Regions from separate parts of the Homo sapiens genome. Here region 1 is linked to region 2. Evidence: promoter capture Hi-C in 16 types of primary human blood cells and fetal thymus (Javierre and others, 2016). All regions are on one chromosome and are shown on one strand. The core of a region is centred on a gene start or on the middle of the fragment in contact, and the rest is flanking DNA. Distances in the headings are between cores, read along the strand shown. Region 1 holds the start of CNTN4-AS1 (CNTN4 antisense RNA 1). Region 2 holds the start of SETMAR (SET and mariner transposase domain methyltransferase).

Region 1 (2,700 bases), core at 103-2,602, 1.2 Mb after region 2:
CACACATCTGAATGCCACATCATTCTTCTATGCCCAGAATAGTGCCTGGTACAGAGAGGGCTGCCAGTAGTCCCTTGCTGAATAACTAAAACCCTCTCCAGGCACCTATCCTATCCCATTCCTCCAGATGGCTGTGCCCTGGGCCTGGCCGGCACTCAGAACTTCTCCACCTCCAGCATCTGAACCTCAGACATCTCACCCTTCTACCTCACCATTTCCTCTGGCCTACCTACTTGTCCTAGAATGTTCTCTAGTTGAACTTCAGAGTCTAGTTCCTTACTCCATCCTGTCCTTTCTCTAAGTACTTATTTCTAGGTGTATGAAATGCACTAATGAGTCTATGTTCTAAATTCTAGTCCTTCTTTTTTTTTTTTTCTTTTGTTTGAGACAGAGTCTCACTCTCTTGCCCAGGCTAGAGTGCAGTAGGGCAATCTCAGCTCACTACAACCTCTGCCTCCCAGGTTCAAGCAATCCTCCTGCCTCAGCCTCCTGGGTAACTGGGACTACAAGCACGTGCCACCATGCCCAGCTAATTTTTGTATTTTTAGTAGGAATGGGGTTTCACCATGTTGGCCAGGCTGGTCTCGAACTCTTGACCTTGTGATCCCCCCACCTCAGTCTCCCAAAGTGCTGGGATTACAGGTGTGAGCCACCATGCCCAGCCCTGACTTTCTAATTGTCTATGTTACTTTGGGCTTCTTATATAACCTCTTTGCTTCCATTTCATAAATAAAAAAGGAATAAAAACCTATGTCCTCCCCTTATTAGTGTGAAAAGCACTTTGAAAACTAGAAAAACAAATTAAAGATATTACTATTTGTTAAAGTCCTAGGACATATATATTTCCTGGTATAGTTCGTGTTATTCCTAACAATAAGGATATGTGGCAAAAACCCAGTTTACAGAGAATGGGGATATCACATGTAATTGCATCTATATTTAAGTAGCTCAGCCTTCCAATTTCCAGACTTTCAGATCGATCATATGGTTGACCTTTTTTAAAAAAAGCTTTCTCTCTATGTGATCTATATCACTAGAGCTCTGCTAATCTACCATGGCCCATAACTGCTTGTGATAAAGGATAGAGGCCAATTTTGTTTAAACTGTGATCTCTGTTGAGTATTGTAGTTTGCAGGTGAGTTGCAGAGCTGGAACATTTAATCCGCATGGCCCATTTAGCACAAGGGGAAACGGGGCCTCTTTGCAGAATGGGCAGCCTGACTTGCATTTACTAATCACACTCTGGCAGGGGGCCTGAGGAAATCACAGGAAACGGGGCCAGATATTCTCCTCCCTCTAGGTCTGAGATGGAGGTGACACAGGCCTTGTGCCTGGGAGCACAATGAGGAACCACACCCAGATGCCAACGCTGAGGTGCCGTGTGTCTACTATAAGGCGGAAGACACCAACAAAAATGATTTAAATATAAGGTACGAAGGGATGACTGACATGAGTGGGTACAGACCCCATCCCCTGGAGGTCAGAGAAATGCAAGGTCAATTTCAGATGGGGAAGCTGAGGGAGGCTTTGTGCAAAACCTGGCATCTGAATGGGAACCCTACTGCCTAAGTTTGAATTAGTTGATTGTATGATTAAAATTATCGAACATTAAAATTTATATTAAGAAGTGATCATGTTTAAATAAAAGGTGATAATGGATGTGTCAGCTGAGTTCCACTCATTTTGGTGATAAGAAGCATCCACATCCTACATCTGTGGGTCTAGTAAAGTCCCTGGAGAAAAAGAACAATAACAGACGGTAAAATCATCACTGTTTGGAGAGCTTTACAAACTTTATCCTCCCTAATAAGTAGCCAATCATTACAATGCACCCCAGGCAGTCAAACTCCAGGATCCACGTCCTTAGTCTTTGTATTAGGCTGCCTTTGTAAGGCCTCAGTGTCTGGCATTTTGTAATGGAAAAATCTGGGGTATGTCCACAGATTGAATATAAGTCCTTGATTTTAAAGGCTTGCCTTTCAAAGCACTATGGTTGGCCACATAACGTTTTTAGCCAGAACATTTTGTAAATTGTAACAACAGGAAAATAACAGTCACTTCTTGATTATAAGTGTTAACGGAGGAGAACAGTAGCATCGATAATCCAATGTAGTGAACAAAAATCACCTGTTGGTTGATTACATTAGATTAAAAACTGCATGACATTTTTGTTGCTAATTATGTGCTATTTGTATACTTTTTATAACTCAACATTCTTTGCGCATATTTGTAGTGAGGCAAGGTGGTGGAAGAGACTGGGTAAAGGTTAATCAGGATTTAACATTGCCTCCTGGATATAAACAACCACAATTTTGATGGTGGGAATAACACAATCATTCTTTCTTAATATCAAAGTCTATGCACCTTCTACCTCACAGGCTGGAAGAATTCAGAGCTTACCTGAGAAATGAAGCTTATCATCCATGTCTTCTGTGCCCATGGAAAGGTGCTGCTTTGTATGTAGCATGTGTGGGCTCCATAGAAAGTAGGTACACTGAGAGAATCCAAATATCTGGCACAATAGAATTTCCTTTCATACAGTTAAATCACAAGTGGACTACACACACAAAAAGGAGGGCAAGAGTAAGCACTTTGAAAGGTTAAACAAGCAAAGCAAATTTTCCTAGTGGTCCTCCTTCAGAAAAAAATCTCAAGCAGCAATATAGTCATTCCACTCGAGTGTATTACTTGGGCTAAGGG
Region 2 (2,700 bases), core at 121-2,620:
AAGCTGCTATTGAATCTCTTATCTTATCTGATCCTCACAAAAACCCCTAGGAAAAAGAAAGGGCAGATAGGGTTCATTGTTGATAATGGATGTTAAAGGGGCTATGCATTTTTAAATTATTATTTTCATTTTGCAGATGAAGAAACTCAGGCTCTGGGAAGTAGCTAAGATGTCTAAGCTCCGAACCATACTCTCCAACTTCCACGTCCAGCGCTCTTTCCACTTCAAAATCTTTGGTCATTCCTTATTCCTTGGGTAACGCTCAGGCCAAGGTCGGAGGGATAAGAAAGTCAGTAGAGGCTGGGAGCGTGGCTCATGCCTGTAATCCCAGCATTTTGGGAGGCCGAGGCGGGCGGATCACCTGAGGTTGGGAGTTCGAGACCAGCCTGACCAACATGGAGAAACCCTGTCTCTACTAAAAATACAAAAATTAGCCGGGCGTGGTGGCCCATGCCTGTAATCCCAGCTACTCGGGAGGCTGAGGCAGGAGAATCGCTTGAACCCGGGAGGTGGAGGTTGCGGTGGGCCGAGATCGCGCCAGTGCACTCCAGCCTGGGCGACAGAGCGAGACTCAGTCTCAAAAAGAAAAAGGAGAGTAGAAAGGGCTTTGAGGTAGTTAATAGAAGCAAACATTTACTGAGTTCTTACAGCAAACCGGAAAGTGTATTTTCCTTGCCATTTTCAAAGCACTCCGGAAGAGAGGTACTGTTCCACTGTACGCTGGAAGACTCTAAGGCTGAGCCACAGCTAATTTACACTCGCCCAAGAGCCCACAGCGTGAGGGAGACCACAGCTAAGGCTGACTCGAGGGGCTGTTTTTATGCACGACACCGGCTGCGATCCATTAATAGGCCCCACGGCTTATCCTACCTGTGAGAGACACCTGAGACCAGGGAGGTAAATGACTCCCCCCGTGATGCCTCCTTGAGTTCTGAGGACAGGACTGGACAAAAAGCCAGGTTCTCACAAGGCCTCCGGTTCTGCGCTTCAGGGAATGGACTGAAAAGGACAACACCCTTGCTAAGGTGATGCCGTGGGTCAACAGAAAAAGGCCCAGGCCGGGGCATGCACACCTATTCCCGCGCACCAACGGGTGCGCTGTAAGAGAAGACAAAAGGTCGCGACTGGGAGGCCGTCCCAGCGAGGCGGCTTGAGGAGACCACGTGGGGGAGCCGCGCGCCCGCCTCCCGCGCCGCCTGGCCCCGCCCCTACCTGGAAGGGCGCCGGCGCGGCCCCCGGGGGCCACGCGCCCACCGGCAAGTTTTCCTGGCCGCACGCGACATCCAGCTGCTCAGTCGGGGCCTCAGGCTTCTCCTTAAACTCCGCCATCCCACAAGGCCGTGTCGTCTTTGCCGCTTCCGCGAACATTTACCCGCCTCACGCAACGCCCACTACCCTGACAGTCCTGGGCCGCGCGGTGGATGCTGGGACTTGTGGTCCCGTGGCCCCACCGCCTCATGGGAATTGTAGTTCGTTTCTTCTCAGGAGTGGCCTGGAAGGCGCTTCCCTTCCTTGACTTTTTGGGTCTGGCTCCCGTTTTGATTTCAGCCAGAGGCACCACAGATAATTACAAAACCATGTAAGGTACGGACGAAACAAAGTGAGGTGCTTTAGTTTTTCCTGGGAGCATCAGAGAGGGGGCTTTCGAGGTGAGGTCATTTGTCCAGGTTTTTGAGGGCTCACTGCACGTTTGTGGAGTGGAGGCAGGGGTGCGTTCTAAACCGAGCGGGGAAACGCACACCAAGGTTTCTAAAGGTCTGCGGCTTGCCGGGAAGTTGACTGACATGTGATAGGGTTTGTGCCAAGGCGATAGCCTCACAGGGTGCCTTAAGGAATTTGTGTGGGGGCATGCTCACTCCCTGATGGAGGTATCCGTGCCCCTTTGCCTGTCCTTTTCCCTCCTCTCCATCCCTCTACCCTCACCCCTCCAAACCCCTGCCCTGCCAAAGGATTCTGATAGCCTCAAGACTGCTGAATCCGGTGGAGCATTTTCAACCTCACTGAAGCTCTCTGACATGATTGTCCTGCTTCTCCTTGAAACTGTAAACCAAAAATAAAATTCCAATCCTCCAAACCATCTGAAGGGACCCCTCCTCTCTGCCAAGGTTAACCTGAGAAAGTGGTTCAGGCCATGATGGGAAGGGGGGTCCAACATGCCTCATTATGCCCTTCTTCCTTTTGGAATTCAGGAAAAGCCAGCCAGCATCAACATCAACACACACCTTAAGTCTGATAAGAAACATTTACAATCTGTTCTCTGAAATTTACCTCTTGGAGGCTTCATCTCCACGATCAAATTTGGTATCCACAACCTCTTATTGCAACCCAGACATTCGTTTCTATTGATTTTAGGTCTTTAGATAATAACCAGTTGCCAATCAGAAAATCTTTAAATCTACCTATGACCTGGAAGCCACCCCTCACCCGCTTCTCGTTGTCTGCCTTTCCAGATCCAACCAATCTTACATGTATTGATTGATGTATTATGTCTCCCTAAAATGTGTGAGAGTAAGCTGTATCCCAACCACCTTGGGCACATGTCATCAGGACTGCCTGAGGCTATGTTGGGGGCGCATTCTTAAGCTTGGGAAAATAAACTTTCTAAATTGAGACCTGTCTCAGATAATTTTGGGTTCACAAACCCTTCTGACCTTGCAGCTTCTGAGGTCCCATTGGCCTAAATGTGTTTCCATCTTGCAG

What was found. Contacts are between HindIII fragments. The CHiCAGO score rates a contact against its expected background, and 5 or more counts as called.
Region 1: the fragment with the promoter of CNTN4-AS1 here is called in contact with the fragment with the promoter of SETMAR in region 2 in 9 of 17 cell types (activated CD4 T cells, total B cells, total CD4 T cells and 6 more); the score reaches 14.1 in activated CD4 T cells.

The regions. Positions count from the first base shown.
Region 1 is chr3:3,059,797-3,062,496 of GRCh38, reverse strand. It overlaps CNTN4-AS1 (CNTN4 antisense RNA 1), which reads left to right and starts at 1,352. Exons shown (of 4, transcript NR_046554.1): 1 at 1,352-1,430. The HindIII fragment of the contact is 1,405 bases long and covers 1,011-2,415 here.
Region 2 is chr3:4,302,039-4,304,738 of GRCh38, reverse strand. It overlaps SETMAR (SET and mariner transposase domain methyltransferase), which reads right to left and starts at 1,370. Exons shown (of 3, transcript NM_006515.4): 1 at 1,213-1,370. The coding sequence starts at 1,368. It also overlaps a transcript of SUMF1 not described here. RefSeq lists enhancers at 933-1,002, 1,031-1,773 and a silencer at 1,093-1,432. The HindIII fragment of the contact is 4,274 bases long and covers 1-2,585 here.